7 separate regions of the Homo sapiens genome follow, and all the other regions are linked to region 5. Evidence: promoter capture Hi-C in 16 types of primary human blood cells and fetal thymus (Javierre and others, 2016). All regions are on one chromosome and are shown on one strand. Each heading gives the region's core, a stretch centred on a gene start or on the middle of the fragment in contact. The rest is flanking DNA. Distances are from core to core; before and after follow the strand shown.

Region 1 (2,997 bases), core at 338-2,837, 360 kb after region 5:
ATATACCCACCTTGGTGTTATTTTACCATCTTTTACCTCAGTAACTTAAAGTGGACCTTTCTAGTTCACTTGTTTAGTCACGGGATCATAGCAGCTTGCTCATCTCTAGTGGTATGAAGCCGTATTTGAGAGGTTGGGCAATAGAGCCCTACAGTGTTATGTGATTTGCTCAGTAACAGAGGTAGCTCCAGCATGCACACCTCTGAACTGCATGAATCCACTGCCTTTTCCACTTGCCTGTGGTTTACCATTGTTCTTTGTTTCATTTACCAGGGTGAGATCTCATTTAACATGTTTTAGATTACAGAGGTTTTATAGTAGAGCTAAAAGCATATAAAACAAGAATTTATTAGAAAGGACACCAATCTTTAACAGCCTCTGCTGGTCTCAGGTTAATCTTACTATGGTATCATTTTCTTAACAATGGACTATCATAAGCTATATCATAGCTCTTATACACATTTATGCAAAACAATTAAACTATAGTGTATGAATAAACATTCCCTGACCCCCACCTGATTTTCCTACCCCCTTCTATGAGCAAGCAGATGGCCATTTTAAAGTAAGATAAGTGGAGAAAAATAGAGAAGTAATAAGGGGCAATTTGAGCAGTCAGTGTACTGTGGTATCCGTGGGACCCTTCTCCAACTTCATGTGATAGCATGCAGTATAGAAAAGGTTCTTTCAGCAAGTGTTTAGGAAAATATGTTCCAAAAGATCTGCATAACATTAGTGTAACCAAGTGTTCCTCTCTCTGGCTTCCTGTTTTGGAATTAAATGCCTTCAGGGTACTCAGAATAACTCTGTTTAGGAACACAAGAAGAATTTAACCTCTTATGTTCCTAATCAATTTTAAAAATATATATATAGATTAAATAGAAAGCAAAAAGATCTTATTCTACTTTGCTTCTCAACAGTTTCAGCTAAAAATTAAAACTGTTTATACATAAAGTCGGTGGTTTAGTTAGAAAACAAAGGTATAAACAAGAATTCTGACAGGATTATTATCAGCAAAATTTTAAGATCAGTTTTGTCCCTGTAAACAAATTTCATAGACAAACCTTTTTACATGTAGGATTATTTCCAAAAGAACTCAGTGGAAAGTTTCTACTCTGGGTGTTTGCAGGAGATAAAGGGAGCAGCTAAGCTGAATTGATGTTTACTTCTTTGTGGTGTTATTGTTCAACATTCTTAAGTTGCTTCTGCAAAGCCAGCAGAGGGAGCACCAAACAATATTTTTGTTTACCTTAAAGCTTACAATGTATTTTAAAAATATTTTCTTTCACTTGCATTAAAAAATGTCTACAATGAATAATTTGTTGATTTTACATTTTTACTGTATAGTTTTAACTTCTCTGAAATTAAAAGACTTGAGGGGCTTTATTATGCAATTTAATTCTATAAACATTCAGTAAATGCTTACTGTTTATAAGACTTGATGCGTGATGGAGAGTCAAAGGTGAATACTCCACAGTCTCTATTCTTCAATAATTTATAATTTAGTTGGAGAGAAAGAAATGTAAATATCCTCTGTTTACAATGCAGAAGGATAATAAAGGTAGAATATGGGCTAATTCTTAATAAAAAACAAATAGGGATATTATGGAGAAGGTGACATTTGAATTGGACTTTGAATAAGAGGTTTCCAAAAATGGAAATTCTAGACTGAATGGAGCAGCATGAATGCAGGGTATACTTAGAGCAAGACAATTCTAGGCCTGAGGCTAGATAGAACCTGGTTGATAGAGGGGTTATGTACTGGGAGGTGAGGTCAGAATGCTAAGGTAGAGTTAGATAATGGAGCACCTTGAAATCCGTGCTAAGTGCTTTTGAGTTTATTCTGTTGTCAGAGGAGAGCAAACTGCACACCATTTCGAGGAAACAAATAATGTTTTGATTAAATAATACTTGTTTCAGTGTGAAAGCTTGCCTGGAGAACTGAGAGATTAAAGATTAGACATTTTTATACTAGGTAAGGTCAGACATTATATCATCGTGGATAATAATAAGAGTAATGGTTGTAGTAATACCTTTCATTTGTATTTGCGAGTATACATATATATACACATGCATACATATTTGTGTATCTACAGAGAACCCTAGACACCTATATATATGTGCATATATATACACACAGTATATGCAATAATACTGCTCTTATATAATATTTATGTACATATCATATATGTATATATGTGTATATATGTATGTATAACATGTGTATATATCTCATGTATATGTGTGTGTATATATCCCTCAAGATAATCCTATGATTTGAAGATATATATTGAAAATGTCAAGTAATATGTATATGAGGTCTCATAGCATAGTCAGAGCTGAGGTGGTACTCAAATTCTAGGTTGTTTGAGTCTAAGCCTGATATTCTTTTTATCATGTTATGCTGTTTTTGCATTATATGATGTCAGTGTTGATAGGAAGGATGGAATGTGCATCAGAGACATTACAAAGGTATAAAATATTTAAACACAAGGCAGAAAAAGGAGTTGAAGATAGCTCTCAAATTTTCAGTCTATGTGACTATGTGACCAGGAAGCAGGAATGGTGTTGCCATTGCCTCCATAGATGTAAGGGAAGGAACAGCTAGGGGAGTGGGATGGGAAACAGGCATAGGGGGGAAGATAATTCCATTTTGGCATGTCAGATTTGAGATCCTGAAGGCAATCTTATAGAAATATGTAGCACATACTTTAAATTTTGGATTTGGAGCCGAAGAAAAGTCAGAGCTACAACTTGAGAATCGATGATATATTTCAGAGAAAGTGTATAGACTAAGAAGAGAAATGAAATGAGAGCCTAACCTTGGTGGAAGACTACATATAGGAGGCTAAGGTAAGAAATAAGAGACAGAAGGAGCCTGCACAAACTCTGACAGAGATGAGAGTGGTCAGGGGAATGCCTTGTTCCTCAATCAGCAAATATTTGCATTCTTGCTGTGTGCAAGGCCTTTGCCCAGAGTATAAAAGAGGGTGCCATCGC
Region 2 (3,166 bases), core at 632-3,131, 310 kb after region 5:
CTCTATCTAATATGGGCAACAGAACAAGACTCTGTCTCAAAATAAAAACAAAAAAACCAAAAACAAAATACCTCAGAATTAATGTTTTATCTTAATAGATAGTACATTTGTGATACCAGTAGAAGATACTATGACAATTTAAGTGGAATGTAATTAGATAAGGAACAGCCATCTACTGTTTGTTTAAAAAATGCAATGAACTGCTAACAATTTTTTTTTTTTTTTTGAAATAGAGTCTCACTCTGTTGCCCAGGCTGGACTGCAGTGGTGTGATCTTGGCTCACTGCAACCTCTGCCTCCCAGGTTCAGGTGATTCTCCCGCCTCAGCCTCCCGAGTAGCTGGGATTACAGGCACCCATCATCATGCCTGGCTAATTTTTGTATTTTTGTAGAGACGGGATTTCACCATGTTGGCCAGGCTGGTCTCGAACTCCTGATCTGAGGTGATCTGCCCACCTTGGCCTCCCAAAGTGCTGGGATTACAGGCGTTGAGCCACCATGCCCGGCTGAACTGCTAACATTTTAAAAACTGAGACCTATCAGAGGGTAGAGGGTCAAAAGAGGGAGAGGATCAAGAAAAATAACTAATGGGTAATAGGCTTAATATCTGGGTGATGAAATAATCTGCACAACAGACTCCCATGACACAAATTTACCTGTGTAACAAACCTGAACATGTACCCTGAACTGAAAAGTTAAAAAAATTGAATAAGCAAATTTCATGAAAGGGATTGATTGTGCTCATGATAGATGAACTCAAAGAATAATCCTAATTTGTACAAATTATCAAATTTAGCTGTAAGTGATTTTACAGACTAGATTATCTATCATGAAAAATTATTGGTAGTTTTGTGATAATTAATAAGTTTTATAATCTTGTAAGCAACTGCATAAAACAACATTATTTTTCATTTCAACCATCGCTGATCAAAAGATACTTCAACTCTGCACTGAAGAGTGATAAATTCTTATTTTACTATGGTCCTTGGGATTCCAAAACAGGGTTTAGGTAAAATACATCATCTTTTGATCCTAAATATATGATGATCAAAAGTCTAAATTTTTTTTTTTTTACATTTTTCTTCTAAATTAGTTGTATTTGTAGATAGTTGAACAACCATACCAAAGATATGTAGATATGTGAATGGATATCAAACTTGAGGGAAGGGTTTTTGTGGAGTTAGAGAGTACTATTTGCTTAGCTCCCGATGTTTTTATTGGATGAAATATTAGATTAATTTTTTTTATCAATGACTTTAACAGGTTCTCTTTCAACACACATTTATGCCAGCATTAATGCCTTCATGTATTAACATTTTAATTCCCCCAAAATAATACTTATCATGGTCAATTACTTCTATTACATACCAGTTCATCTTACTAGTTGCTTTATTATCTTATTTAATCTTCAGAAAACTCTTATGACAATAGATATTAATATTAATATGGCAAATAAATGGATAAGATTAGTGAAGGTGGATAAAAACAGTTATAATAATAATAACAATAACAATATTATAATAAAGACAGCAGCCTAAGTTTATGGAGGACTAACTATAGGTACTGCACTAAGTGATTTGCATATATTAATTCATTTCAACTCATGATATTGATATCTTTATTCTCTTCACTTTATTATGAGGAAACTGAGACATGACACAAAGGTTAAACTTGCCTAAGGACAATAGCTAGGAAGTGATTATGTTCTGGCTTTTGTTAAGTTCTGGCTTTGGGAAACAGTAGTTCTTAAAAGTTAGTCATATTAATTAAGACATTTATTGAGAGTAGGTAGTATGATTTTGCATGTGACATTTCTGAATTTGTGAGATGAAAGTGAGATGCAGTTTTTGAACAAGATATTTTCTTTACCAGTGACCAACAGAAGTATGTTGCATCAATTTAAAATCCTCTAAATATAGGGCCGGGCGCAGTGACTCACGCCTGTAATCCCAGCACTTTGGGAGGCCGAGTCGGGGCGGATCACTTGAGGCTGTGAGTTTGAGACCAGCCTGGCCAACATGGTGAAACACCATCTCTACTAAAAAAATACAAAAATTAGCTGGGCGTGGTGGCAGGTGCCTGTAATCCTAGGGAGGCTGAGGCAGGAGAATTGCTTGAACCCAGGAGGCGGAGGTTGTAGTGAGCCGAGATTGCACCACTGCACTCCAGCCTGGGCGAGAGAGCAAGACATTGTCTCAAAAAAAAAAAAAATCCTAAAAATATAAATGAATAATTTCAACAGAAGCAAACATAATCGATGCTGGCTTGGGATATCTTATTTTATGTGACACTTATTTTCATAAATGGGTATTGATACTACCATATCACTTTATCAATTTATGATTTTTTTTGTATTTAATTGAAGACTTTTCTTAGAGAAATTGAGATATCATTTAATAGTAGTGAAAAACGTGATTTAACAATTGATCTACTTTAATAAACAGGAGCATATTGTCCTTATTGAAGCCTTATTTCTATACATGAAACGATAATTTACAAATAGAAGTGGGAACCAAGCCCTATACTTCAATTAGACAATTTTTGACGAAAATTAACCATTATTAACTCTTAAAATTTTTGTGGATATATTATTGCAAAATAGCTGCTAAACTTAAGTTTTTTTTTTAAGGTTCTAAATTAACTTACTGGCTAATGAAGACTAGAGAGACTAGAGTTGAGAAATAAGGTGTAAGTTTTTTTTAAAAAAATCGTGTCCAGCACTCATCCACTCAGTAAAAGGAAACAGTATCTAGTTAACTTAGATACTGATTTTTAATAATAAGTAGTAAAAATTATTAATGAATGCTCAGAAAGGGGAAATATCTGAAAGTATTTCCTATGTAACTCGTGTTCTAGCCAACATTGCTTTGTATTTTTTTGTCTCTAATGTCTTCATTTATGAAGTTTTGAGTCATTTTCCATAGAATAGAGATAACCTAGATTTTGTCTTTTGATTCACACAATTCAGCTACCTATACACACTGACTTTAAGTTGGTCAGTAATTTTTATATTATTGAAGTTTGTGTTCTGCTTGAAGTTCGATTACTGTAGTTCCTCATCCTTTTGCAGAGGTATCAGAGGTGGGTACCAAGCATATTTTATTTATCCATTTACTATCCTTATTACTTCAGAGCCTCAGGTTGCACCTTCAGATTACATTTTTAA
Region 3 (3,277 bases), core at 523-3,022, 420 kb after region 5:
GGATTAGAGAAGTATTTTAAGACTGGGGCAAAAACGACTCTAGTTAATTACTACAGTGAGCAGAAAATAGAAAATTATTTGACAGATAATTTAATTTAGAGTCTTAATTGTAAAGAATCTTTAAGAAAGTTTGTGTATTTATATTTATGTTACACATATGTTTATGTAGACAGTAAATCTAGCCAAGGTCATGATAATGAACCATAACATGAATTTTGGTGAATTAAAAAGAGATTCTAGGGATTGAAATGAATTTGAAGAGCAAACAGTGAAAGTTATTTTTAAGAATAATGAAAAGTTATCTAACTAATACAAATATATTCAAACTGAAAAGTCCAAATAACAGAGGAAATCTAGTGAGAATTATTTGTTGAGCCATGTAAATGTTTGAAATATTTTGGGGAATTAGGATAGAAGTCACATGCTGGGTTAGAACATATGATAGCAATAGAATCTCATTGAAAAATCAAGCCCTGTTTTGAAAATGTACTAAAGGAAAGGTGCTAAAGAAATGGGAAGTAAAACTACAGAGATAGCTAGTTAGCCAAAAGGTTTATTCTAAGCAGAATATTGCTTAGCCACATATACAAAAGGCAAGAGATTTTAGTTGGACCCAGAGGCTTGGGAGAGAAAATAACAAGGTAAGTACATTAATTTTATTAACCTGTAAGCGACTGTATTTTAGCTTTCTTAGGTGAATGTTTGTGCCATATGGAAAAAACATCTCTTTGCTTACTATTGGCACAATGAGCCCTGTTTGAAATACCTATTAAAATATACATGAGTGCCTACTGTGTGCACAACACAAATCTCATTAGCCTCTTTTTAAAATATGCTGAAACAAATCACTGCCTAACTTGTAACTCATGTATTGTTTTTCTGCTCCTTCAAAGTCATCAAAGCAGTATTCGAGTCTATATGTTAGGTGCTGTTTTGAGAAGGCAGAGACTGCATTCCATGAGAAGGAGACCAGGTTGGATGGTGGAAGTAAGGGTATTCAAAGTGCTGGTATAGAGTAATATAGTAGTAATAGGTCCATGATGTGGGGATAATGTTTGAGGAAAGCCAGGAATACAAATTACTGAGTATTAATCTCAAGAGTTTGGGATCAAAACCTCAGAATACTTTGGATAGGATTGAAAATAGAGTGTTGGCAGGGCGCGGTGGCTCACACCTGTAATCCCAGCACTTTGGGAGGCCGAGGCTGGCAGATCACCTGAGGTCAAGAGTTCGAGACCAGCCTGGCCAACATGGTGAAACCCCATCTCTACTAAAATACAAAAAAAAATAGCTAGGCATGGTAGCAAGCGCCTGTACTCCCAGCTACTTGGGAGGGTGGGGTGGAAAATCGCTTGAACCCTGGAGGCGGAGCTTGCAGTGAGCCGAGATCACGCCACTGCAGTGACAGAGCGAGACTCTGTCTCAGGGAAAAAAAAAAGAAAACAGAGTGTCTTCTGCTTTAGAACCAGCAGACCTTAGGCTGTAGATATCCAGCTGGTAGTATGGTTCTCAGATTTCTGGATCAATAGTGGTATCACAGGGCTGATGTCTCAGGTATCTTGTGGACCCAATGTTGCTTCCCTTGGGACCATTTTCTGATTCAGAGGTTCATCAAAATGGTCTTATATGTCCTTTACTAGGTTAAGTGATTCACTTAATTTAAATGGAAGGGTATAACATCACTTGCGTTATTCCATGTTTCTTAACACTGTGTGTGGACAGTTTAAGATGATTCATAATTGCTCCTTTATGTGCTATTGGGCATATGTTCATAAAAATAGATTGTAACACACATAAACTTTCTCATGTAATTAAAAACCATGTTAACATCTATTTTTTCTATTCAAGACTGCTAGACAAATATATAACATTTTAAGCTGATAATTTTGAAAATATTTATTAAGCAAGACTTTTAAACCATCTATTTGTGCTATATTAGATGTGTACCCCTGGTTGCAAATAATTTGATAAGCAGGAAAAGGCTTATTGAAGGGTAGATCGTAGAGTCAACTGAAGGTGGTAGAATGACAAGGCAAGGGAATATCTGCCTCCCTTTAGCTTTGGTGGTAGAAATGGGGCTCTGCCTCCTACTTATTTTGGAATTTATCTCCCAAATTGGAAGTGTGTTTGGATACTGAGAAATCACATATCTGCTATAGCTGCATCTGCTTAATGCTATGGATTTATGTGAGTATGAGGGTTTTTAAAAATATAAATGTAAAACATTTAATCAATTAATTTTATTATGATCATTCAGCCATTATTCTTAGAATGTGCTAATTACTCTAGAAATAATGTTGAACTTTCATCTGTTCATTCATTTGAAAATATTTATACATAAGGCATGGATATGTTTCTGAAATGCTGAGATAAATAAAGGAAATCAGAGATGGATAATACCATCAAGGAGCTTACAGTCTAGTGAGGGAAACACAAGATAGGTCTGAAATTCACTATAACAAGTAGAATATGTTAAGGACCATAAGAGAGGTAAAAGGCACCAGGGCTTGGAGAGCTATGACTACCTTGAGCTGTGGTGATCAAGAGAGGCCTTGGCTGGACATGGGATTTGTCCATGAGTGATAGGGGAAAGGGTGAGCCAGGCTTGGGAAGAAAATCATGAAAGGGAAAATTCCAGATACTCATAGGTTAGGCAGTGTTGATGGGGACCACTAGTAATAGTAGCAACAAGAACAATACAACTAATATGCATGTATAACTTTACACTTTACAAAGAACTCCTGTGCACAGAAACACATATAATGTAGTGGTGAAAAGCGCATGGTCTAGAGTCAGAAAACTTTAGTTCTGATTCCTAGCTCTGCTGCTTACTAACCTTATGACCTTGGGCAAGTTATTGAACTTTGCCATTTCTTTTCTTTCATCATCTGAAAAAAAAATTGAGTTAGCAATAATACTGATTTCAGAGTTTCGAGGATCCTGAGCTTATATTGGAAATGGTGCTTGACACTTAGTGCCTTTCAATCATGCTAGCCAAATTATATATCTAGATCTTCACAATAAAATTAGAAGGTAGTAACTATTATTACCCTCATGTGAAGACAAAAACTGCTCAGAGGGGTTAAATTATTTATTCAAGGGTACATAGAAAACTGTAGAGTTGGGACTTAAACTCTATAGCCCATTTTTCACTACATGACACTTTCATTCAAATAACTGAAATTTAAGAACCATATAGGTTAAATTAATTAATTGATGTTATATGCAAGCAAAAGAAAGTTGCCATAGTTCATATTTTTGGAATTTCATTTAGATT
Region 4 (3,059 bases), core at 428-2,927, 260 kb before region 5:
TTATCATTTTGAAACTCTACCATAAATTGGATAAGTTAGTTATGTACTGTCAACTAGAAGCTTATTCTAATATTCACACTCTCTCTGTTATTTTCTCTTTCCTTTATAAATCACCTAATTTCACCTATGAAGCTGTCTTTTTAATTCTGGACTAATTTAAAAAATTTAATAAATATTGTGTCATTGGTTTTATAATGGCTGTCTTTTACAAAATGATGTTTTATGACATAGTCATTAATTCAAAATATAGTATCAATTTAGTTTTTGAAACATGGAGACATAAAAATAGGTTACTAATAATTTTTGTCTGTAATACAACCACTTTGAAGTAGAATACAAGGTAAAATTATGTGAAAAATATTACTAAATACCAAATGTTGAGATAAATATTTAGAAGTGCCTCACTTGAAACAGAAGAACACTTGAGATCTGCGTGTTGATCTGAATGTAAGAAGATGATACAGTGTTTATTTAGTGGTATATGTAAAAGGAGAATTTTTTTTCCCCAAATGGATGGCATTGTGAATGAGTGTATGTTAATGGAACTGTCTATACCCTCCTACCTGACTGAGGCCCTGTGAAGGAGCTGCTGTGAGGGAGGGTCAGTGTATGTGCTAGCTGGGAACCTGCAGGTTACTACAAAATGAGATCAAGAGAAAGAGACAGATTCTGTTTTTAGTCAATTTATTACTCTTATATGTCCTCCTTTAAGTTCAAATTTGTATGTTTTTTTGGAGGCCAAAAAAAAAGAAATAGAAAACCACTTATAAACTCTAATCTTCACACAATTAAAGCACAAAAAGACAAAACAATCGGTTAATATAGCTAAAAACTACTACTTTTACCTGAAATATAAGATTACTATGGTTAAAGTATTTTTAACACAAAATTAGTGCTGTTATAACATGGCTTAGTATTCAGATTGATCCTTCCCTTATGTTATCTAGATAACCACCTAAGTCCTCAACTGCCTAGTGAATTAGCTTGCGTAGACACAGCAACAGAATCTAAAAGCGTTTGCATACTAGCAACTGAGAATAATCTGCACTAGTATCTGTACTTCACTATTCAGAAGTCAATTTGCTTTCAAATGAAATTCAAAATGTTAACCCCAATTTTAATTATTTTATGGTAAAATGCTAATCTGTCCAAGAGATTATGCTAATATAAATTATATCTATTGACAGACATGTCAGTATTCCCTGCTTTAGCAATCTGAGAAGAATAGGTTCTTCAAGAGTCTTTGGGCTGGGCGAGGTGGCTCATGCCTGTAATCCCAGCACTTTGGGAGGCCGAGGTGGGCAGACCACTTGAGGCCAGGAGTTTGAGACCAGCCTGGGCAACATGACGAAACCCCATCTCTACTAAAAATACAAAAAATTAGCTGGGCTTGGTGGCACACGCCTGTAATCCCAGCTACTTGGGAGGCTGAGGGAGGAGAATCGCTTGAACCCAGGAGGCGGAGGTTGCAGTGAACGGAGATCACGCCACTGCACTTCAGCCTGGGTGACAGAGCAAGACTCTTTCTCAAAACAAAACGAAACAAAAAAACAGGCAGAAAAGAGTGTTTGGCTCTTAAAATGTGTTTACTCTTTATGTTTGGGGCAACATTCTTTTTTTTTTTTAAGTTTGAGTAACAAATACTTGTTTGAAGGTATCATGATGGTGAATCAGTGTTTTAACTGGAAAAAAGCCTTCCCCAGAAAGGATTATTTGTAATGTGTGTGGAAATAACATTTGACTGGGAGTCAAAGACCTGGGTTTTAGTTTCTGTACCTCTATTAATTAGCAGTGTCCCTGAGCTAATCATCTTTCAGGGCTTTAGTTTTCTCAACCTTAAAATGAGAGAGTTAAACCAGGTGACTTCTAAAGTCCCTTTTAAAATAAGGAACCAATGATTCTGTGTTAATTATTTTTAGTATTACATTTAAATATAAAGATTAGTATAATGTAGATAGCTATAAATATTTGAAGTGTGTGTGGGTGAGGCAGGGAGTGGGGATAAAGGCATATGTTCCTAAGGCACAAACCATTTTCATCAAGGAGCTAAAGAAAATTATTACCATGCTTCATAGAGAAAAAGAAAAACCTAAAGATTAAATATCCCACAACACAACAGTCCTCTTTGTTGTGTCAGATTAAAGGTCAATTAGGAGAATAAAAAAGCTACACTTAACAATGAGAAAGTATGGTAGAAATTTGTTCATTCAAAAACATATATATATATTCAAAAACATATATATATCAAAAACATATATATATTTGAATGAACAAAACAGATAGATAGATAGATAGATAGATAGATAGATAGATAGATAGATAGATAGATTAACAGGGTCTTGCTCCATTGTCCAGGCTGGAGTGCAGTGCCATGATCATGGCTCCCTGCAGCCTCAACCTCCCAGGCTCAAGTAATCCTTCCACCTCAGCCTCCTGAGTAGCTGGGACTACAGGTGTGGTACACAACACCACACCTGGGTATTAAAAAAAAAAATTGCAGGCCGGACGTGGTGACTCACACCTGTAATCCCAACACTTTGGGAGGCCAAGGTGGGCGGATCATGACGTCAGCAGTTCAAGGCCATCCTGGCCAACATAGTGAAACCCTATCTCTAGTAAAAAATACAAAAAATTAGCCAGATGTGGTGGCATGTGCCTGTAGTCCCAGCTACTTGGGAGGCTGAGGCAGGAGAATTGCTTGAACCTGGGAGGCCGGGGTTGCAGTGAGCCAAGACCATGCCATTGCATTCCAGCCTGGGTGGCAGGGTGAGACTCCATCTCAAAAAAAAAAATAAAATAAAATTGTAGAGATGGGTGCTCGCTCTGCTGCCCAGGCTGGTCTCAAACTCCTGGGCTCAAGTGATTATCCTGCCTTGACTTCCCAAAGTGCTGGAATTACAGGTATGAACCATCATGTCCTGCTCATCAAATATTTATTAAACACCCACAAAGGCACTGTTCTAAGTGGCTAGATATATCAGTGAACAAGGAAGATAAAAATGACTACCCGCTGATTAGGATTTTTCAAGGTTCACAGTCTTGTAATTAATAGGAGAAAC
Region 5 (3,192 bases), core at 457-2,956:
GATTAGGAAATGTTCCCATCCCTAGGGCACACAAAACTTTCAGGGGGAGACTAACTGCCTAAACCAAGGAGGGAAACTCAGTCGCCTGCGCATTCGGTTTTTATTTACGCAGCTATTTCTGTGCGCAAGGTAACCAAAGTACCTTTGAGAGATGCTCTCAGACTTTTTCTCTGGTCTGAACCCCCTCAGAAAGACAGGGTGCGTTCAACGACAAGGATAACTCTGACCCTCAGAGTTTAAGTGGTTACTGGGAATCACTGATCTGTTGCACAGTTTAAAAAAAAAAGGGGGGGGTTCTTCCTCAGTGATCACAGTCACTATTCGTTCTCATTTTTAGTAACAACCAAATCACCGTTACAAGTACACAAGAATAGCAGCAAACCGCTTTGCTTTGCAGTGTGCCGTGACAGTGGCATCCCGGGCCGGGAGGGGCTCTGTTCTCGCCAGCCGCCTCTTGGGCTCCCACCGAAGTTAACACCTGTATCTCCCCACAACTGTAACCAAGCGGCTCCTTCCCACCTGAACGCTTCTCCCCTCCCACAAACCCCTTTTCGGACCACTGGCCCTCCCCGCCACAGCTGCCCTCCTCGGGCGCCCCCGGCGGCTCCCACAACTCCCCTCCGCGCGCCCCCGACCACCGCCCCGCCGGGCCCGCCCCTCCCGCCGCTCGGGGGCTGCCAGCCTCACAAAAAGTTCGCCAGCCGCCGCCGCGGAGTTGGGTCCGCTGCGAGAGGCAGAAACGCCAGCCTCCTCCAGCGGATCCCGCTCCTCGCCAACACACTTTAGCTCCCCGGGAACTCGGTCCCTCTCCGACTCCCAAACTTCGGCGGCGTCTCCGGCGCCCACCCGCCCCCGCCCCCGCCCCAGCCCCAGCCCCAGCCCCGCGATGCGCGGGGGACTGCGGGCGCCGCGTCCGTAGCTGGCCCAGGAAAGCCCGGACGCCCAACCCGCACACGCCCTCCGCGCCCCGCGCGCGTCTCCGCGCCCCGCGGGGCCCCGCTCGGCCGCTCCACGCCCGGCTTCCGCCCGCCGCGCGCCCGGCACCGCCGCCCTCGCCTCGCCTCGCCCCGCGCTCGCGGCCCTAAGCCCCAGCGCCCAGGCCCCCGCCGCCGCGCTCCCCGCGCTGCCCGCCCCGACCCCGGCCCCGACCCCGGCCGGCCCGCCAAACACCCACATTCCCACTGCGCGCCTTCCTCCACGCAGCTGCCCCTCCCGCCACCCCCGGCGGCTCCCCAGGTCCCCGGAGCCCCGGACCCCAGCTCTAAAGTTACTTTGGAAGGTGAACCCGCGGGTTATTTCCCTCAATCACCCAAACAAGTTTCCATCCTCGCCACCAGCACCACCGCCGCCCCTCAACACACCCGGTCCCTCCCGCCGACAGCCCCCTGCGGCCGCCCGCCCAGCGCCCGCACCTCCCGGGAAAGCGCAGCTCCCCGCACCACACGCCCCCATCGCGGCACCCCTCCCCCTGCCAGCCCACCCCCGGCGCTCCCCGGGCGGAGAGTGTCTGTGTCTCCCAGAGTGTGCGAGTGCGTGCGTGAGTGTGCGCGCGTGTGAAGGCGGAGGTGGGTGAGAAGCGGAGACACTTACTTCTCCCGGGCCTGGCTGTCGGACGGGACGGCGCTGCTGTTACTCTTGCCTTTGCCGTACATGCTTGTGCCGAGAGCAGCTCCCACTGTCACGCACCTGTCAACCCATCACAGCCTCCCCGGGAACAGCCCCGTCCCCATGGCGACCCACGCAGCCACCCCCACTATTGGCCGCCCCACGCCAAAGCTCCGCCCCCTTCGCCCAGGCAACGCGCGAGACTGACAGGCCTCCCCCTCCCTCTGGCCTTCCGAAGCGCGCGGTGGCGGCTAAGCCTCAGCGGCAGTCTCCTCCCTCCTTCCCTCCCTCCCCGACTCCCTCCCTCCCGCCTTCCCTCTCCGCTCTCCTCCCTCCACCCGCTCTCCTTCCCCCTCCCCCCTCCGAACCCGGGCGCAAGGGGGGAATTAGAAACTGCTCTAGAAGGATTTTAAACAACTGGCTGTTCTCTCCGCCGCCACCCCTCCCCCCGCGCCGCCCGCGCTCAGCTCCTCACTGGAGAGAAGGCGCCGGGAGGAGGAGAAACTGCGGCCTGGAGTCTCCGGCCGGAGCCGGCGGAGCTGGAGCCGTGGCGGCCCCAGACTTCGGGGCGCCCGCCGAGTCCACGACAGAGCCACGGCCTCAGCCGCCCTGGGGCCCCCACCAGCCCCTCTCCCGCTCCTCTCCTATGCGTGACCCCGCGCCGGTACCCACGATTGATTTTTGCGGTCCTCAGCCCTACTCCCTGGGGTGTCGCCCCCGCCCTGTTCCCAGAGGGCCGGCTGGCGAGGGACACCCGCGCGGTTCCCTCGACCTTCTGGCTGAGCGACCGACAGCGACTCGCCTTCTCTCCTGGGGAAAGGCTGCACCTCCGGCCCTCGGCGCCGCTGCGGTGGCGGCGCCCGGGGCCGCGCCCTGCGCCCCAGGGGAGCACCCGGCCTGGGGTCGGCCTCCTCTGTAAGAGGTGAGCGGACCTCCCGAGGAGGCCCGGTGACTCCTGCGGCCGCAGCGGCCCCTGCCCCAACCCCTTCTTGCACGGAGCCCCGCGGCGCCCTGGACACCCCGCCAGATCTGCCGCAGAAGAGGGCCCCAGGCTTCCCCACCCGGCCTGGTTTAACAGTTTGGGTCAGTGATGCCTATTCATCCTGACCCCTGGAGTGGAAAAGGCCAGAAAAGGTCTTGAAAGACTTCCCTGTCCTTGCCCGTTAGAATAGGCCCCAGCGCGCTCCAAGGTGTACAAAGCTGTGCCAGGGCTGAAAGGCTGCCCGAGAATGTTTCTGTATCCAAATCCCTAATCCCATTTCAGTAAACGCGCAAAAGTTTCAGAAACACACACAATCTGGTTCCCAGTAGAACTCTGCATCATTTATCTTATTGAAGTCCTTGACTGTAAAATCAGACGGGTGCAAATGGGGTTAGAAAGAAGATGGGCTTCACACGGGGAAGAAGGGGACAGATGGGGTGGGACAGGGCGACATCTGGAAAGGATGAATAGACAAGAAGTAGCTATGGGAGGAGAGGGAAATCGGATTCGCGTGGAGGAAGGTACCGTTCTATTCCACACACACACAGCTTTAAGCATTTAGTAGGAGGATCATAAAATGCATATGGAGATATACAGATAGATGG
Region 6 (3,145 bases), core at 599-3,098, 480 kb after region 5:
TGTTCCCCTCCCCTTTTTTACTTTCTTCCAGTGTACAAAAGAAAGACATCTGACATCCGACATCCATCCCTTACCATGACATATTGCTTAGCCAGGGCACTGAAAAAGGAGAAATTTGACAACCCCTTTATTTAAGGTATCCCCAGGTCCCAATTCACACACATATATATATATTTTAAAATTTTATTTTATTATTATTTTTTTGAGATAGGATCTATCTGTCATCCAGGCTGGAGTGCAGTGGTGCGATCTTGGCTTACTGCAACCTCCACCTCCCAGATTCAAGCGATTCTCCTGCCTCAGCCTCCCATGTAACTGGGACTACAGGCGCCTGCCACCATAACTAGCTAATTTTTGTATTTTTAGTAGAGACGGGGTTTCACCAAGGTTGGCAAGGATGGTCTCGAACTCCCAACCTCAGGTGATCCGCCTGCCTCGGCCTCCCAAAGTGCTGAGATTACAGACATGAGCCACCACTCCTGGCCCCAATTCATGTTTTTAAGTCAGGATATATAGGGTAGTGGTTAAGTACTTGGGCTGTTGTGTCAGAGGTCTGTGCATAGATCCAGGTTCTTCAGTTTGCTAGCTCTGTGACCTGGATTAGTCATTTATGCTTACTCTATCTTAGTTTCTACATCTATAAAATGGGGATTATAATAATAGGTTATTGTGGGGATTAAATTGATTCATACACATATGAATAAAAGCATGTACTATATAAAAAGTATGTATGGGCTGGGTGCAGTGGCTTATGCCTGTAATCCCAGCACTTTGAGATACCAAGGTAGGTGGATTGCTTGAGTCCAGGAGTTCAAGACCAGCCTGGGCAATATAGAGAAACCCCACCTCTGCAAAAAATACAAAAATTAGCTGGGCATGGATGGCATGAACCTGTAGTCCCAGCTACTCGGGAAGCTGAGGTGGGAGGATCGCTTGAGCCTGAGAGGTCAGGGCTGCAGTAAGGAGCCATGACTGTACCACTGCACTGCAGCCTGGGCAACAGAGTGGGACCATCTCAAAAAAAAAAAAAAGTATGTATGTACTATTAAAAGTATGTATCAATACTATATAATGCCATTAACTCATGATTTCCAAAAATATTTTACTTTATATATTTGCTTATCAAATTTTATAATATATTTATGTTGTTTTGATCAATTGAATACTAGCAATGATTATGACAACTCAATCAGACATCTAAGTTAACATAGAACAAAATGGCCACAGGAAATTTTAAAACATAAACTCCTTTGTCTCTCTATTTTTTTGGTTATGAGAAGATGATCAATAAAAAGCTTTTAAGCATAAAATATACATTAGGATGAAGTTCTTTGAGAGGAGCACAATAGAGATATGAATTCAAGGAGAAATATATAAAATGTCCAATTGTATTGCATATATTTTTTAAGTGAATGATGATGGATGTTTATTTTCAATTGAATGCATTTAAGATAATGATGTAATATTAATAGTTGTATTTAAAATTGTCAATATGTACCGTGCATTGGAAATCATATAATTTGCAACTATTTAATGAAAACCTTTAGAGGTGAACTTGTGTACCTGGGGTATATAGATAGATGTTTTTTAAATTTAGGTGATGCAAACAAGTTCAGAGACACTGGAATAAAACACTGATTTACAGGAGTAAGGACATAAGTGAAAGTAGAGGCATAAAATTATCTTTATAATTTATATTTTCCTGAGTACCAGCTATAAGAACAATACCTTCCTTATCAAGTTGAGAAAGTAGGTAAATTATAGAAGCCTGAGGTTCCCGTGGCAGAAAGTCGATTTGACTTGTGTGGACTAACTTAACTGAAATATCTTCAGTGTTTCACAGAGAAGGTCAGTGTATAAAAAACACATGTACTCCCAATTTGATGAGTAATTCCTAGGAGAGATCCCTTGCCTTTGTAGGGATGCTGGATTTGTCCCTTGAAGTTTTTGTGAAACGAGCTATTTCTGAGTGGACCCCTCTCCTGAGGCAGAAATGGAGAGGCCGGATGGCTTGGATGCATGCTCTGAGACAATTTTACTTCATGCTGGAGATGGCAGCTGTTACAGTACTGGAGGAGCACTGGCTAAGACAGGAAAGAATAAATGAGCCTCTTAGGAGGAACATGCTAGAAAGGAACTATTTTCTACTTTAAAAAATAAGTGTTGAAGAACATGTGCATGCCCTAAGGTGTGTTTACTGCTAATTATATGAGTTTGACAGGCACAATTTTGATTTAAATTTTATTTCATGCCATGCTTCAAGTTGAAAGTTTGGATGCCACTTTCTTATTGGGCAAGTTTCATGTCAGTGTATCCACAATTGTAAACTGTAATTAATATATAATTTTGTGTGCTGGTTTTTACACTTAATATCATTTTTCAGACCCTAGCCAAGGAAAATAAAGCTTTTTAGAGAAGTGGTGTGTTAATGCTATAGCCATATTTTATACAAACTGGCACAGAATCTGAGTAAGTTGTGAGCTTTAGTTAATGTGACTTCTTATTTGAATGGCCCGTGAAGACCAAGGAATAGTCAGTCCTCCATGTCTGCAGGTGTCCATATCTGTGGACATGGAGGGCCAACTATACTAGCCACTTTACATAAGGGACTTGAACATCCATGGGTTTTGCTATCTGTGGCAGGGAGGTAGGGGGGTCCTGGAACCATTCCCTGTGAATACCAAAGGATGGCTGTACCAGCTCATTGGAAACTCACGTCATATAATGCAGGCCTGTTCGTATACAGATTGGAGCCTTGGCAAACTATTTTTGAAAAGTTACTGATCCCTGCACTGGTCAATCTGAAAAGGCATTATCCAAGGACATAATGTGGTTATAAACATTCAAGAAAGTTGCCCAACCCCATCCCGAGCCCTAACCCTTTGCATGTTCTCTTGCATCAGGTCACTAATTCCTGAAGGTTGCAGCCTACAGCCAAGTTGAAAGAAGCATAAGGGCTAAGCTAGTTGACTAAAGTCTTTATGGAGTCTATGTGATGTTTTTGTGAAATATTTCAAAGGAAGGGTTAGTTCTCACATTAAGACAGGGCTACTTAAAACAGTGAGGGACTAATAAAGCAGTTTGTATTGGTGGCAATAATGTAGTTTCATCTTTTTGGAGGGAAATGTGATCATACAAATCAACA
Region 7 (3,054 bases), core at 505-3,004, 270 kb after region 5:
GCAAGTGGTTGCATCTGGATAGGCTGACCAGGGTATGTGGAGGGGTGAAAGAGGGGCTGCTGACTTTTATTATATAGTCATCCCTCAGTATCCCTGGGGGGATTGGATCCAGGACTACCTTCCCATACCAAAATCTGCAGATACTAAAGTCCCTGATATAAAATGGTTTAGTAGTTGCATATAACCCATGCACATCCTCCTGTATACTTTAAATCATCTCTAGATTACTTACAATACCTGATACAGTGTAAATGCTATGTAAATAATTGTTATACTGTATTGTTTAGGGAATAATGACAAGAAAAAAAGTCTGTACATGTTCAAAGCAGATGTAGTTTAAAAATATTTTATCAGCCGGGCGTGGTGGCTCAAACCTGTAATCCCAGCACTTTGGGAAGCTGGGGCGGGTGGATCATGAGGTCAGGAGTTTGAGACCAGCCTGGCCAACATGGTGAAACCCTGTCTCTACTAAAAATACAAAATTAGCTGGGCGTGGCTGGGCACAGTGGCTCACGCCTGTAATCCCAGCACTTTGGGAGGCCGAGGCGGGCGGATCACAAGGTCAAGAGATTGAGACCATCCTGGCCAACATGTTGAGACCCAGTCTCTATTAAAAATATAAAAATTAGCCAGGCGTGGTGGCGGGCACCTGTAGTCCCAGCTACTCAGGAGGCTGAGGCAGGAGAATCGCTTGAACTCAGGAGGCAGAGGTTGCAGTGAACCGAGATCACGCCATTACACTCCAGCCTGGGCGACAGAGTGAGACGCTGTCTCAAAAAAAAAAAAAAAAATTAGCTGGGCGTGGTGGCGCATGCCTGTAATCCCAGCTGCTCGGGAGGCTGAGGCAGGAGAATTACTTGAACCTGGGAGGTGGAGGTTGCAGTGAGCCGAGATTGCGCCACTGCACTCCAGCCTGGGTGACAGAGCAATACTCCGTCTCAAAAAAAAAAAAATTTTATCTGAGGTTGGTTGAATCCGTGGATGCAGAGCTTGCTGATACAGAAGACTGGATGTATATACGTATTTTAATGCATGTTTAGTTTTTAAAATATGTGGTGTATTACTTTGATTAAAATGAGTACTTTTTTTTTTTTTTTTGAGACGGAGTCTCGCTCTGTCACCCAGGCTAGAGTGCAGTGGCATGATTTCAGCTCACTGCAGCCTCCACCTCCCAGGTTCAAGCAATTCTCCTGCCTCAGCCTCCCGAGTAGCTGGGATTACAGGTACCCACAATGCCCGTCTAGTTTTTGTATTTTGAGTAGAGATGAAGTTTCACCATGTTGCCCAGGCTGGTCAGCTCCTGACATGAGGTGATCCTCCTGCCTCAGCATCCCAAAGTGCTGGGATTACAGGTGTGAATCACCATGCCCAGCCAGTACTCTTTTTTTTTTTTTTTTTTAAAGAGGAAAGTCCATTTTCAAAGCACCATTAACTGTGCTGTTATTTACATATATCTCATTTAATTTAACCCCACAATATCTCTGTGAGTTAGCCATTATTATTTCTACTTTAGACAGGCATATAGGCTTAGAGAAAGTAAATGATTTGTCCAGGTTACATAGTATTTATGTTCGAGGCAGGGTCAAGACTGGAACCAAGGTGTGTCTGCCTCCAAAGATTATTGTCTTAACTCCTAACCTATAGTTTAATATTTGAATATTCATTAACTAAGTTAGAAGCTGAAGTTTTATCTATTCCATACCACCATTATGTAGCCAACACAATGGATCTGGAATATGTATATATACACACACATAAAATATATATATATATATGTATGTATATATATTTATTTTTCTTCTCAATGCTCCCCCCCTGCCCCAGCAAACTTTAGTTGCCTCTTATCAATGTGTAGAATTGAAACAAGAAAGTAGCAATTGGGCAGATTCTTCCAGTGGGAATATGATGACTATCCAGCATGACTAAATTTGTTCTAAGGAAAAAAGAATACTTTTATTTAATACTTTGTGTATTATATTAGGCGCTTAGATTTGAGATACTAGATTATAGTAGCACATATATTTAGATTTTTTTAAGTTTGCTTGTATTTTTTAAAAACACATGTAATCATGAGTGTTTCAAGTTATCAATATCCAGCTGCATTATCCTACTTTAGGTGTTAAATTTGATACAGATTTATATAGTAATTGTCTTTAACAGATGCTGTAGATATTTATTGCAAAATGTCATTGAAAAGACAGATTTAATATATTAGTTTAGTACACATGGTGATTTAAAGTTTAGAATACATTAAATAAACTGTGTCAGAAATTATAAATAAACTAAAATGAGTAAAATTATTCTTAAATTGCTAGACAAGTCTTCACATTTAATGTTACATTAATGAGTTTTGTACAGAGACTGTTTGGAATAAAATCCTTTTTCATCAGATGTTGCACATATGCTTTCACTGTTTGTTTTTCTTCAAAGTAAAACTTAATGAAACAGCTAATAAAACCCAGTTTTGCTCCTGATTCTTGAAAGAAACAAGCCCTTGAAGTGCACCCGCTGTTTATTCTTTTGCACTGGTTTTTGCTACTTTTCAGCATGTAAATTTTCCAGTAATGGAAAACAGTCAAAGCCGTAAACCTTTTCTTCCAAGTCTTATAAACCCAGTGTTTATTTCTTATTTGTAGAGCGATTGCACAATGGAGACATGCTTTGCACACATACAGAGAAGTTTGGTCTCAGATCTTCATGTGCACCTCCTGCTGACTTCACCAGGGTGTAGTGCATGTGCATTTAAATGGCTGTTTATTATGTAAATGACCAAGAACCAGAATAGGGGTTTTAACTAACCTAAAAAACTGAGAGGTTTCAAAGTAAAAGACATATATGAGACTGCAGCCCTATTACTCTCATAAACCTCAAAGTGTGTTAGACTGGTGAGTAGTTTATGAAAAAGGATCAGCTTCTATGCATTAGAAGTGTATAGATGGCAGATGTGTATGTATCCCAAGTGGCTCTTTCACTAACCATAGAGTATACTATTCTGTCTTCCAGCTTCTTTCCGAGATGGATTGTTCGACTCTCTTGACAGGGTAGAGGTAGATA

Evidence for each region. Contacts are between HindIII fragments. The CHiCAGO score rates a contact against its expected background, and 5 or more counts as called.
Region 1: a fragment that was not itself captured here is called in contact with the fragment with the promoter of SSBP2 in region 5 in 2 of 17 cell types (megakaryocytes and fetal thymus); the score reaches 5.7 in megakaryocytes.
Region 2: a fragment that was not itself captured here is called in contact with the fragment with the promoter of SSBP2 in region 5 in 1 of 17 cell types (neutrophils); the score reaches 5.3 in neutrophils.
Region 3: a fragment that was not itself captured here is called in contact with the fragment with the promoter of SSBP2 in region 5 in 4 of 17 cell types (M1 macrophages, megakaryocytes, M0 macrophages and 1 more); the score reaches 6.0 in M1 macrophages.
Region 4: a contact is called between a fragment that was not itself captured here and the fragment with the promoter of SSBP2 in region 5, in 8 of 17 cell types (fetal thymus, total CD4 T cells, erythroblasts and 5 more). The highest score is 9.2, in fetal thymus.
Region 6: a fragment that was not itself captured here is called in contact with the fragment with the promoter of SSBP2 in region 5 in 2 of 17 cell types (fetal thymus and megakaryocytes); the score reaches 7.5 in fetal thymus.
Region 7: a fragment that was not itself captured here is called in contact with the fragment with the promoter of SSBP2 in region 5 in 1 of 17 cell types (megakaryocytes); the score reaches 5.2 in megakaryocytes.

Annotation. Positions count from the first base shown.
Region 1 is chr5:82,106,265-82,109,261 of GRCh38, forward strand. All of the region lies in intron 3 of ATG10 (autophagy related 10), which reads left to right. Among named protein-coding and RNA genes, the nearest start is that of ATG10, 140 kb to the left of the region's middle. The HindIII fragment of the contact is 672 bases long and covers 1,252-1,923 here.
Region 2 is chr5:82,063,285-82,066,450 of GRCh38, forward strand. The region is part of intron 3 of ATG10 (autophagy related 10); the gene reads left to right. Among named protein-coding and RNA genes, the nearest start is that of ATG10, 93 kb to the left of the region's middle. The HindIII fragment of the contact is 8,136 bases long and covers 1-3,166 here.
Region 3 is chr5:82,169,512-82,172,788 of GRCh38, forward strand. All of the region lies in intron 4 of ATG10 (autophagy related 10), which reads left to right. Among named protein-coding and RNA genes, the nearest start is that of RPS23, 110 kb to the right of the region's middle. The HindIII fragment of the contact is 7,884 bases long and covers 1-3,277 here.
Region 4 is chr5:81,490,975-81,494,033 of GRCh38, forward strand. The region is part of intron 5 of SSBP2 (single stranded DNA binding protein 2); the gene reads right to left. Among named protein-coding and RNA genes, the nearest start is that of ACOT12, 98 kb to the left of the region's middle. The HindIII fragment of the contact is 3,239 bases long and covers 59-3,059 here.
Region 5 is chr5:81,749,391-81,752,582 of GRCh38, forward strand. SSBP2 (single stranded DNA binding protein 2) reads right to left here and starts at 1,707. Exons shown (of 17, transcript NM_001256732.3): 1 at 1,591-1,707. The coding sequence starts at 1,652. RefSeq lists silencers at 569-728, 949-998, 1,439-1,488, 1,659-1,988, 2,259-2,608. The HindIII fragment of the contact is 16,084 bases long and covers 1-3,192 here.
Region 6 is chr5:82,227,191-82,230,335 of GRCh38, forward strand. The region is part of intron 5 of ATG10 (autophagy related 10); the gene reads left to right. Among named protein-coding and RNA genes, the nearest start is that of RPS23, 50 kb to the right of the region's middle. The HindIII fragment of the contact is 1,110 bases long and covers 1,294-2,403 here.
Region 7 is chr5:82,021,249-82,024,302 of GRCh38, forward strand. All of the region lies in intron 2 of ATG10 (autophagy related 10), which reads left to right. Among named protein-coding and RNA genes, the nearest start is that of ATG10, 51 kb to the left of the region's middle. RefSeq lists an enhancer at 1,815-3,054. The HindIII fragment of the contact is 5,505 bases long and covers 1-3,054 here.